Linked DNA regions of Homo sapiens: regions 2 and 3 are each linked to region 1. Evidence: promoter capture Hi-C in human tissues and cell types (Jung and others, 2019). All regions are on one chromosome and are shown on one strand. The core of a region is centred on a gene start or on the middle of the fragment in contact, and the rest is flanking DNA. Distances in the headings are between cores, read along the strand shown. Region 1 holds the start of NKX6-3 (NK6 homeobox 3). Region 2 has its middle 20 kb from the start of GOLGA7. Region 3 overlaps GOLGA7 (golgin A7).

Region 1 (4,153 bases), core at 443-2,942:
GGCCGTTCAGGCCAGTGGGCAACCGCAGCAGGTCATCTGCAGCACCCATGGGGCTTTTAAAAATGCAGTTTCAGAATCACAGTTGCCTGGGGGGAATTGGGTGGTGACACCGGGAACCAGAACCAGGTCTACCAGATGGCTGTGGCACGCGACCTGGTGGCAAAGCCATCTCAGACGAAGACGTAGCTCTTTTCTCTTTAAACCAAATTTGTAGGGAATCATTCCACACCCTTTGTGAGATCTTTCTTGCATAACCTAAATCCCTGTGCTACAGAGGGTCAACTTCTGCATGAGAAGGAATCCTGCCCTGAGCCTTGGGTCCTCTGCTCCCCACTGAAAACCAAGACGGCCTGGAAACCCAGGAGAAGCTCAGTGAAGCAGTGCCTCTAGTCTCCCACCTACCAGGGCGGCCTCTGGGGAGTGAGAGAGCAAGCCCTGCAGAGCCCACGCCTGGTCAGGAAGGGCTCTGGGGCCACCAGGCACAGAGAGGAGCAGAAGTCCATCTGTCTGGCAGTCACAGTCTTTCCTAGCATTTTACATGTTCAGGCCAGTGGCATGCTAGTTTCCAGTTTTAGAGAAAAACTGCAGGGAAGAATCCTGCCTGGTCCAGAAATCACCCATGTACCTGGAAAGTGGGCTCCAATTCCTCTATACCTTGGTTTTCCTGTTTGTAAAATGAGAGCTTCCCCCAATAGAGCCTTGTATGTTGTAAAAATTTATTCGAGAAAAAAAAAAGCATATGCATGTTCTGTGATTCAGCCCAGTCCACTGCATCAACTACTAACTGAGCACCGACGGAGTGCCCGGCACGGGGCTCCACCACCCTCTCAGCCATCAGGGATTTCAAACCCGGGCACCACGCCAGACAGAGCATGGCCATTGCTCCAGCAGAGGCACAAATGAGGAAGAGATTCTGATAGGGAGGTCACGGAAGGCCGACCAGAGGTGGAGGCAAGAACATGCGTGCAGGGCGGCCCTCTCTTCAGCCTCCTGCAGTTGGAGGACTCACACCCCGGCACTGTCAGGGCTGCCTACGCCCCGCGCTGCCCTCTTCCCAGCAGGCTCCCACCCTAGGCTCTCAAGCCAGCCACAGGGACTTGCATCCCCCAGAAAGCAATGCCACTCAGCCTCTTACCCCATCCCCGCACTTACCCCCATCTTATGCCACTTACCCCATCCCCGCATGCGGAAGGGAAGGAAGCGGCTGCGTTCTCCTGTGGAGCTTGGACATGTGCACATAAAGGGGCCGGCGCAGCTCCGGACAGTGGCCTCTGAGTCCAGCCTCCTCTTCCCTAGGGGAGCAGCTGTAGGAACAGTGACTTCCAATTGCCTTGGGAGCCTCCAGGGGCCCCCAGACGCTCACCTTTTCCTAGATGCTAGACTTGCGGGGAGCAAATGGACCCTCCGGCGATGAGTAGGGCTTCTAGAGCTAATTCTCTGTCTCTCTCTCGCGCGCGCGCGCATACACACACACACACACGCGCGCGCGCGCGCGCGCGCGCACACACACACACACACACCCTGGCTGATTGTACAGTCAATCTTTCAAAGTGCAATTTGTCTAGGAAAAGCCAATGTGAGGCCCGTGTGCGCCCCGACCAATGGCGGCGCGGCTCCGGCGGCTCAGCCAGTCTCCGGCCTGTATTCTAATGGGCCGTATCTTTATCAGGGAAATGTTCCTTCTCTGAACTTAAAACTTCTCATGGAGGGTCCCCCGACTCAGAGGCAGAAAGGGGGTCTGAGCTGAGGCTTAGGGGGCCACCCTGTCCGGCCAGGGCAAGGAGAGAGGCCAGGAGCCCTGGGGAGGCCTCCCACCTGCCCCGAGCACCTGACTTCCGAGCAGCTGATCGGGTGCCGGTTCCTGGGCCAGGGCCTGGCCCATGCCTTAGGTGGGAGGCAGTCAGGAGCTCGGAGACGGTCCTAAGCCTCCAGGCCTGCCATGAGATTTGGGGCTAGAGAGTGGGCTCTTGGGTTTTAGGGGCCTGGAGAAGCCTTCCCTGTCCTGACTGGGAGATCATGGAGTCCAACCTGCAGGGGACGTTCCTGCTGAACAACACGCCGCTGGCTCAGTTTCCGGAGATGAAGGCCCCGGTGTGCCAGTACTCTGTGCAGAACTCCTTCTACAAGCTCAGCCCCCCAGGGCTGGGCCCCCAGCTGGCCGCCGGAACCCCCCACGGGATCACGGACATCCTGAGCAGGCCCGTGGCTGCGCCGAACAACAGCCTCCTCTCCGGCTACCCCCACGTGGCAGGCTTTGGGGGGCTCAGCTCGCAGGGGGTCTACTACAGCCCCCAGGTAGGGAATTTTTCCAAGGCTGGGAACGAGTACCCGACCCGGACCCGGAACTGCTGGGCGGACACGGGCCAAGACTGGCGAGGCGGGCGGCAGTGCAGCAACAGTGAGTACGGGTCCTCCCCAGCCACCTCCCGGCACCCGCCAGGCCCCGGGGGGCAGAGGACGAGGAGGGGCCTCCTCCCGGGCACCCTGCACCTCCGCCCTCTCCCCCAGTCGCCATTAACCCCTGGACTCGTAGCCTCAGCTCAGTGCAGGCTGAGTTCCACCCTCTCCTCCTTCCCATCCAGCAGTGCTTGGACACAGGTGTCTGAGCCACCCCCCTCACATGCCAGCCACCTCAGCTGCCCTCCTAGGGCCCCCGGCAGTTCCAGATGTAGAGAAGGCCCCACAGCCCACGCCTGCCCTGCACGAGGTCCAGTAGGCAGCCCAGCTGGCTTCTGCAGCCCAGGGCCCATGCAACCACTTCTTCACCCAAAGCAGGCAAATGCTACCCCCGTGAGGAAAATGTCCTAGCTCACCTTCCCAGAGAGCCCTGGCATCACTCAAGGGTGCAGAACGCACCCTGACCCCATCCGGGTCCAGCCTTTGAGCCAGGGGGCTGTTGCCCACCACATCCTCGGGTTTCTAGCAACAGCAGCCACACCAAGTAGCCTGTCTCGGGGAGTTGCTGCTGAGTCCAGCTGAACTTGGCCTTGGCTGTGGGGAAGCAGGGGGCCTCTTCTCAGCCGACCCATCCCTCAGCCAAGGTTTTCAGAGGGTGGGCCCGTGATGCCAGTCAGGGTTACTGGAGGAGGTGGCAGGGCAGGTGAGGCTCTGCTGGGAGGCAGGGAGGTGAGAGTTTTTGGAATCTTCTCCGTGCCACCGAAGCCCTGCCCACGTCAGGCAGGGGCCTCCATTTCTGTCTGATCTCCGGGCTCTCCTACGCCAATGGGGGCTTGGGGCCAACCTAGGGAACCCCAAAAGCACACCTGTCCCCCCATTTGCTACTCTGCCTTGCCGGTCACAGTGCCTGACAGCCACCCCTCCATGGGCTGCCACCCATCGCTGTGCCCCTGGGGGTGAAGGCCTCCTCTCTCAGATCCTGTTTTAGGCTTGGCTTCAGGGGTGCTTTAAGCCTCAGCTGACTCTCTCTTCCCTCCATCTCCCCCTCCCCTCTCCACATCCCACACACCACCTCTTCAGTCCTGAATGCAGGTACACACACAGGGACATAGCCAAGAAAGTCAGTGGCTAATGAAGGCAAAGGCAGAGAGACTTGAACATGATCTCTCAGGAGGGCTCTTCCTCTCTCTGTGCCTCAGTTTCCTCACCTGTAACTTGAGCTGTCAGACTGCACAGAACGAGGCCTGACATGTGGGAACCACTGCCCACAGCTCCTTCCCGAGCCTGCTGCCCTGGCCAGGCTGGGGGTCAGGGTCTCTGGCCTCTGTGCCAGGCTCTCCAGGGTGGTTGAAGCCACATAACTTCCAGGCCTGGTGACATGGGGAAGTGGCAGCTTGGGGCGTCAGGTTTGCCCCTCCCTGGTTTCCTGGAGACCTGGGAAGTTGAGTCTCAAGAGCAAGGAAGTTGGCGGAAGCCGGGGGTGGAGGGAATTCACAGGCCCTGGTCCCTAATTATAGGAGGAGGGTGACCTGAAGGGACATCCCTGGGACAGAGAGGGAACTCCTGTTGCCCCTCAGGGGAAGGCAACATCAGCGAGTATTGAGAACTTTAGACAGAGAGGCATGAGGCTCTGCTGCCCCTAAGTCCCATTACACTAGGGCAGCTGCCCTCTCGGAGCCCTGCCCATCCAGGCGGGGCAGAGGTCACAGTCACTGTTCCCCAATATCAAGAATGCTGCTCAGGGGAAAGGAATCTT
Region 2 (4,153 bases), core at 1,184-3,683, 180 kb after region 1:
ATTAGAGCACTCTGTGCTAATAAATTTGAAATAGGGATTTTAAGCCATTAGGCTCAAAAACAGCATTTCTTAAAAACTTCCCTGTATTAGTAACTCAGAGACATTTTGGACCTTTTAAATGCTTCACTAATATTTGAGTTGAAAGCTCTATTTCTATTTCCTAATCGCCTCGATTTTCATCTAAATCAAATAGCAATTTCAGCACCTTCAAGTAGGGATAGTGTTAAGAGCTGACTTGTGTCCCCTCTAAAATTTAGTCTTAACTCCCAGGACCTCAGAATGTGACTGTATTTGGAGACTGGATCTTTAAGGAGGCGATTAATTAGCGGGGTTTGGTGGTGCGTGTCCCAGCTGCTTGGGAGGCTGAGGCGGGAGGCTCACTTGAGCTCAAGAGTTTGAGGTTGCAGTGAGCCATGATCTCACCTCTACAAAGAGGGTGCTTAGAGAGCCCAAAAAGTCCTTTTCTTTTCTTTTCTCTCTCTCTTTCTTTCGAGAGAGAGTCTTGTTCTGTCGCCCAGGCTAGAGTGCAGTAGCGCAATCTTGGCTCACTGCAACCTCTGCCTCCTGGGTTCAAGTGATTCTCCTGCCTCAGACTCCGGATTACAGGTGCATGTAATTGGGATTACATGCATGCCACCATGTAATCTGGGATTACAGGTAACTGGGATTACAGGTGCATGCCACTACTCCCGGCTAATTTTTGTATTTTCATTAGAGATGGTGTTTCACCATGTTGGCCGGGCTGATCTCCAACTCCTGACCTCAGGTGTCCCAAAGTGCTGGGATTACAGGTGTGAACCACTGCACCCGGGCTTGAACTGGCTAGTTTTAACCACATTTTCTGAAATATATTTAATGAAACTATGCAGTTTTAGTTAATGCCTAGCCAAGAATCTGGCTCGAGTGATAAAATGAAATGGCTCTGAATTCAGTACAGGGAAAATGAGTTACTCTACCAAATACTAGTTTAAAGGTGTCCTGCCGAACTCCTATTAACCTCAAGAGAGAAGGCTCCAGGTTCAAGAGGCTGAAGAAGAGACCCAGAAATAGCAAACGAGACATGAGGTTTTGCTTTTGTTTTTGTTCTTTTGAGACAGAGTTTCACTCTTGTTGCCCAGGCTGGAGTGCAATGGCATGATCTCAGCTCACTGCAACCTCCGCCTCCCAGGTTCAAGTGATTCTCCTGCTTCAGCATCCCGAGTAGCTGGGATTACAGGCATCACCACCATGCCCGGCTAATTTTGTATTTTTAGTAGAGACAGGGTTTCTCCATGTTGGTCAGGCTGGTCTCGAACTCTCGACCTCAGGTGATCCACCCACCTTGGCCTCCCAAAGTGATGGGATTGCAGGCGTGAGCCACTGCACCCGGCCGAGACATGAGGTTTTATTAGGGGCTTACAGATAGGGAGAGACTCCAGTGGCGGTGGGCTGGACAGGAGAACCCCAACTGCTGGTAAACAGCATGCAGTTTATATATCACTTTCACTTAACAACCTCTTCTTAATGACCTCCACCTGGAAACCTTCACTTAACCCAAAACTCAGGCCCTCAATTCTCTATTTGGCCCGTGTCCCGCGGACCAGGCCAGGGGCTTACACATTCCTTATAGGCAAGGAACAAATCTCCAGGTTGGCCACCCTGGATTCCTTAGCTCAGAACACATGTTCAGGTGCATCTGCCATACAGGGCCATTCTAGGGATATGCTTAATTATTGTTGTCAGGTGCGTTTACCCTACAAAAGGCTGCCGGCCAAAAATGTGGTAGAGTTAGAATACGCATCCAGGTCTTCTGACCCTGTAATTTGGGGCTCCTTCCCCACATTCATCGTCTCTCTCTGAATGTTAATGTGTTGCCCACAGCATCTCTCTCCCCAGTCATTCCCTTGGAAGGGTGAGTTCCAGAGAGAACCTCTCAAGATGTTCATGGAACCACCAAGGCCGACTTGTATTAAGTCCCTTTCACACCCACACCCTGATTTGTGGAAGACCCTTTCTGGTTTCAGTACATACGTCAGGCACATGTGGATAGTTGCACATCTGATTTTCATAATCATTTTCAGCCTCAAAATATTTACAGATGTCAACTAGTGAGTCCTCAGAGAGTCCTCCAGTGAGGCAAGCAGTTCTAATTTCAATTTTGTGAAAAGGGAAATTAAGGTACTGAGAAATGATGGGATTTCCTTTAAGCTCAGCAGGAGGCCCGATTCTAGAAAACCGGTTATTTCAGGCCAGGCTACATACACAAACTCAACACTCTTGGGCATAACGTCAGGTCCCTTAATTGCCTGTGAGGTGGCTGTGTCCTTATACTAGCACACTATGCGGACACAAATGAAGGAATGATGACACCTTAAGCTTATTCTTCCTGGGGCATTTATACTTACGCATTGAAGCAAACTGTAACATTTCAGGATCACTCCAAACAGAGAAGGGTACCATCAGCAAGAATCCCATGTGGATATCTGTAAGGATGTTGACATGCGATAAAAAAGCAAACTGTCATCTATCTTGATGAATATGGACTAAAGAAGACATTCTGATCTAAATCATTAAGGAAATACTATAGAACCACAAGGAATGCAAAATTTAAGCTCGCTATCTATCTCCATCCTCTTTTCTACACAGTCTCCTACTCAATGATTTTTCAACTTTAAGATGGTGTTAAACCATTGCAATTTCAATGTAATGTATAGTAGTAAATAAATTACATGAGATGTTCAACACCTTATTATAAAATAGGCTTTTTATTAGATCACATTGCCCAGCTGTAGGCTAATATAAGTGTTCTGAGCACTTTTAAGGCAGGCAAGGGTAAGCTATGGTGTTTGGGAGGTTAGGTATATCAAATGCATCTTTAACTTATTAGATTTTTGGCTTATGATGAGTTTATCAAGGTGTAACCCCATCTGGACTTTTATAAGCTAACTCATAGGTGACCACAAATGAAACTCTGCCTGGGTCATCCCAAAAGTCCCCAAGTATTCTAGCTTTGCACAGTCATCTTTTCCTTTACTATCCAAATAAAGTGATGTGCACAACAGGAAATGCTTAGGTTCCTACAAGAACTGAGACATTAAGCAAATGTCTTTCGGGATGCTGTCTAAGCCAGCTTTCTCTTTGAAGTCACTTAGAGATGGTGTGTTCATTACACCATCAAAGTGTTCAGCCTGTGCAGGGAGCTCTGAGAAGGTCAGCTGAGCAGGTCGGAGGTGGATCTGAAGAGACAGGGCGAGGCTGGGGGTGGGGTTTTCTGACTGTCCAGTTAAGAACTTACATTTTACCCTAAAGCAGGGGTGGATTCATGTTTTGTCGTTTTTGAAGTTTATCAAACTTGCGGGGGTGGTGATGAGGGATGAGGCCCCACCACAGCCAGCTCTATGTCTCCAAACCAGACAGAGGAATCTGGATCTACATGCAGGGGAGATTTAGACTATGTAAGCTCCCATATGGGATGGCCAGACCACACCCTTTAGGAAGATTTTAGATAGCTCTGAGATATTCAGATAGATACTGAGGTTTCCATGCAGCCCAGGATATAAACTTCTCCAAGAGAAGAAAGAGAAAATCAGAACATGACTGGCCTGACTTTTGGGGGGGCCTTAGGATTGCATTTGGGATGAGACTGTGGAGTCATACAGATTTGGGAGAGGCAGAAAGAAGAAAAGGAGGGAGGGGAGTGGGCTGTGCCTAGGAGGTCTGTTTCTCTGGCCCCTTTCTTTTTCTAAATGCCTGGAGCATCAGAGAAAGTGATGGACAATGATGGCGGGGAGAGGAGTTTGTAAAAGGTAAAAGCAATGCAAACTAGAGAGTTCTGCAGGAGGAAGCTGACTTCCACTGGCTAGGGAGGACAAGAAATACCGTCCAAGCAGAACCAGGCTTGAACTAGGTATTATGGGAAGAAAAATCTATAAGTAGAGAAGCACAGGACTGCCCTGAGCTGCAGTGTGGAGGGGGGAACGTGGGCAGCATGGGCAGGGAGCCCCAAGGGGTCATCTGAGCAGAAGGGAGGGCTTGGGCAGGCAGCGTGTGGGAGTGGGGTCTGGAGAGACAGGGTGAGGCTGGGGGCAAAGTCCTCTGGCTATCCAGCTAACAACTTACATTTTACCGTAAAGGCAGGGGTGGATTCATGTTTCATGTTTTTTGAAGCTTATAA
Region 3 (4,153 bases), core at 960-3,459, 140 kb after region 1:
TATGCACTTTACAAACATGTGAGAGCTAAGTATCTGTAGCACTGTGTATGAGGATGCATGGAGTGTGAGGTGGATGCAAGGGTAAGTAGGAAACCACCTCTGCCCTCATGGAATGTACAATCTCCTTTGTTTGGAGGGGGAAAGAAGCTGGTGAAGGGGAGAGGAGGTAAGTACATAAATCAGATATGGCACCAGTACTCTGATTTCCTTTGACATTAAAACAAATAACAAAAAACAAAGCATGTTACTCCTGGGAAACTGTAGCTTTAACTTATGCTAGGAGCCAGGGCTAAGTGGAATACAGAAGAAATTTAATTGAGGTGTTATGACCTCTTTTTTGTCTCCTGGCTATATAAGTATTATTTACTATGAGTTTCACTGGATAAGGAGAGACATTGAACATTTTATATAGGAAAATAAGCTTACAAAAGAAAGTTGGACTATGGACTGTAACTTCTAAGTTGTTAATTTTCTACAAATCTACCTTATTTAAAAGAAATGGAGTCTGGGTCGGGTGCGGTGGCTCACGCCTGTAATCCCAGCACTTTGTGAGGCTGAGGCTGTTGGATCACCTGAGTTCAGGAGTTCTAGACCAGCCTGGCCAATATGGCGAAACCCTGTCTCTACTAAAAATTGCACCACTGCACTCCAGCCTGGGTGACAAGAGCGAAACTCCATCTCAAAAACAAAAACAAAAAATGGAATCTGTATTTGGATTGTTTGTAACACAGTGCTTGAGGGGGATGAGTAGCCCATTTGACATACTGTAATTATTACGCATTGCATGCCTGTATCAAAACATCTCATGTACACCGTGAATATAGACACCTATGTACCCAGAAAAAAAAATAATAAAACTACACTGAGTCATCAGGTGATCCAAGATAGTAACAATAACTGTGATGCCTTTTTCCTAATGAAACATGCCAATGTCTTATTTCTTTAAATATGTTTTTTAGGCTGGGTGTGGTGGCTCACACCTGTAATCCCAGCACTTTGGGAGGCTGAGGCAGGCAGATCACCTGAGGTCAGGAGTTTGAGACCAGCCTGGCCCACATGGTGAAACCCTGTCTCTACTAAAAATAAAAAAATTAGCTGGGCATGGTGGCGGGCGCCTGTAATCTCAGCTACTCGGGAGGCTGAGGAAGGAGAATCACTTGAATCCGGGAGGCGGAGTTTGCAGTGAGCCGAGATGGTGCCATTGCACTCCAGCCTGGGCAAAAAGCAAAACTCCATCTCAAAAAAAATATACATTTTTTAATTACCATGGACTATTCCTTGATGTTTTTTTGACCTCTGAACTTTTTATTGGCCTCTTACTCCCCACAGGGTACCCTGCTTCTGCTGGCTTAATGTCTCAGAACTTTGGTGTCACTGATCTCAGACACCACTTTGCTATCCACTATCTGGCGGGTGGTGGTCTTTTGGATGGTTTGCATGGAGTTGCTGCTGTCCAGGGCATCACCAAGATTGAGGCCCTCGCTGTCTTCCAGCAGGCGGCGGTAGGTGGCGATCTCAGCCTCCAGCTTGACCCTGATGTTCAGCAAGTCCTTGTACTCCTGGACCTTGCGCTGGCCCTCTGCCCAGTTCTGTGCCAGCTTTGACTCCAAGTACAGCAGGATTCTGTTGAGCTGCTCCATCTGCAGGGCGTAGCGGGCCTCCACCTCCCTCAGGCTGTTCTACAAGCTGGTCTTCAGATTTCTCATTGAGTCCAGGTCAATCTCCAAGCACTGGACTGTACGTCTCAGCTCCGTGTCATCTCAGCAGCTCTGACCTTGGCAGAGTGTGTGGTGACCACTGTGGTGCTCTCCTCAGTCTGCTGAGACCAGTACTTGCCTAGCTTCTCTGAGTTCTTCTGAGACAGCTCATCCTATTGGGCCCTGATGTCTGCCATGACCTTGGCGAGGACTTGAGATTTGGGGGCATCTACCTCCACGGCCAACCCAGAGTTGGCAATCTGGACTTGCAAGCCTTTTACTTCCTCTTCATGGTTCTTCTTCATGAGGAGCAGCTCCTCCTTGAGAGCGCCCATCTCTGTCTCCAGCTGCAGCAGAGTGACATTGGTGTCATCAATGACCTTGCAGAGCCCATGGATGTTGCTCTCCACAGACTGGCGCATGGCCAGCTCTTGTCTCATACTTGACTCTGAAGTCATCAGCAGCAAGACGGGCATTGTCGATCTGCAGAATGATGTGGACATTGTCCACAGTATTTGCGAAGATCTGAGCCCTCAGTTCCTTGATGGTCTTGAAGTAATGGCCCCAGTCTCTGACATGGGGTCTCTTCTCCAGATACTCCTGGATTTTGCTCTCCAGCCTCCAGTTCTCGGTCTCCAGGTTCCTCACTCTGTCCAGGTAGTCCAGGTGGTCGTTCAGGCTTTGCATGGTCTCCTTCTCATTCTGGATGCCCCCCATTTCTGCCAGACCCCCAGCCATCTCTGTGGCCAGGCCCCCAGACCCCAAGCCGCCCCAGAAACTGGTAGAACAGGACATGGAGATCTGGGATCCCAAGCCCCCCAGTGCCTGCATAGATGCTGGCTGCGCTGCTGACCGGCCAGGTGCCATAGCTGGGCGGCTGGACAGAGCCCAGGGACTGGTAGTTGGTGGAGAAGGTGGAGGGAGTGGTGAAGCTCATGCTGTCCGGGGAAGAGAGCAGGCTTTGTCAACGACTACTCCTTAATTTTTACTTATAATATACCTGCTGTTGTAAGATAAAGCAGGTAAGAAATTGAGAGGTGTGACATAGAAATGTAAGATGTTTATTTTAAAACACTAAGCTACATTGTACGGTACACTACTACAATTCTAGTATTATCTGACAAATTTAGTGTCCTATCATTTACCACTTTACCATCATTTACTACCAAATCCCACCAAATATGACACAGAGACAACTTGTTTAAGAAAAGTTTTATTAATGTGTTAATATTTCAGCAAAGTTATTGCAACAGGTTGAAAATGCAGACACACTATTACAGGCTGTAAAGTAACAAATGAGTTTTACACAATTAAAATATTAACACATACTTATGGGATTTGTTGAATGACTAACAGACCCATAAAAGAAATTAAATCTGAGACGAAATCCAGTATTAGCACCTACAATATATCTGACAGTGAAACTTTTAATGGTTTCTCTCTCCTAATGTATTTTTAAACTCTCTCCCAAATACAGCGCTCTCAAACCCCAAGGATAAACGAAAGGCATAAGCAGCCCCGATCCTAGGAACGTACAGCCAAAAGCAGAGCTACAAATATGGACTCAGACTTGAGAGTTTTACTGAGAAGTAACTTACTGTACTTGAGCCAATCATAAGATTTCTGTGCACTGAATACTGTATATGAGAAAATTCTGTGGGTCATAAGGTTTGCCTTAGGGATAGTTAAAAATTAGTAATATACAGTATTATTCCTATCAAATTTTTTTCTCATAAGTTATATTTATAACAAAACTATAATTAAAATATTTTTTATACCTGCTTATTCCATATCCAGGGACACAGCGGGAACATTTATGTGTCTGATGGTTTGGCATCCACTTTATTGTGCTTACTGATTTTTGTGATGAACAAGCAGCACGTATCATATCTTTCCAACATTCAAGGTAATGGAACAATGACATAAAATTCTCCAAAGAAATAACTGGAAATTGCATTAAATACTGCTTTAATTAGGCATAATTGCTATAATAAAACAAATAACATTATACATTTTTTTTTCAATAAGCTTCAGTTTGAGGAACTGAATAGTAGAAACAGATCTTAAGATTTGAGTCATGGTAAAACCAGTAATTCTTTGAAATCTGGGAGGTGCAAAACGACAGCCACAGCCAACCCTCACCAAAATCCTGGAGAAAAACATTTTATTAATTTAGGGGAACAAGATAGAACACTGGTGAAGATACGGCTTGTTGAGGTCTAAAGCCACCTGAGAAGCTGGCCCAAGGAATGAAGAGAACCAATGGTATGTACTGGTGGCAGATAACAAGCTTTGCACTGGGCTGACCAACTGTGTTTTATTAAATGGCTTTGAATAAAAAAAAGTGAAGTGCTTCATTGTGTTTTCTCAGAAACTAATCAAAAGATTACAGAGTCCTACACAATTTGGAGACACAAAGTGGATGCTGAGCGACTAGAGGTCACTCCAGGTGTGGA

The links. Contacts are between HindIII fragments. The study calls those that stand out against the background at their distance.
Region 2: a contact is called between a fragment that was not itself captured here and the fragment with the promoter of NKX6-3 in region 1, in 1 of the 25 tissues and cell types used here (spleen).
Region 3: a fragment that was not itself captured here is called in contact with the fragment with the promoter of NKX6-3 in region 1 in 1 of the 25 tissues and cell types used here (spleen).

The regions. Positions count from the first base shown.
Region 1 is chr8:41,648,356-41,652,508 of GRCh38, reverse strand. NKX6-3 (NK6 homeobox 3) reads left to right here and starts at 1,692. Exons shown (of 3, transcript NM_001364841.2): 1 at 1,692-2,398. The coding sequence starts at 2,017. The HindIII fragment of the contact is 20,465 bases long and covers 1-4,153 here.
Region 2 is chr8:41,468,775-41,472,927 of GRCh38, reverse strand. No RefSeq gene overlaps it. Among named protein-coding and RNA genes, the nearest start is that of GOLGA7, 20 kb to the left of the region's middle. The HindIII fragment of the contact is 4,012 bases long and covers 428-4,153 here.
Region 3 is chr8:41,509,722-41,513,874 of GRCh38, reverse strand. GOLGA7 (golgin A7) reads right to left here. Exons shown (of 5, transcript NM_001002296.2): 5 at 2,895-4,153. It also overlaps the pseudogene KRT18P37. Among named protein-coding and RNA genes, the nearest start is that of GINS4, 17 kb to the left of the region's middle. The HindIII fragment of the contact is 4,424 bases long and covers 1-4,153 here.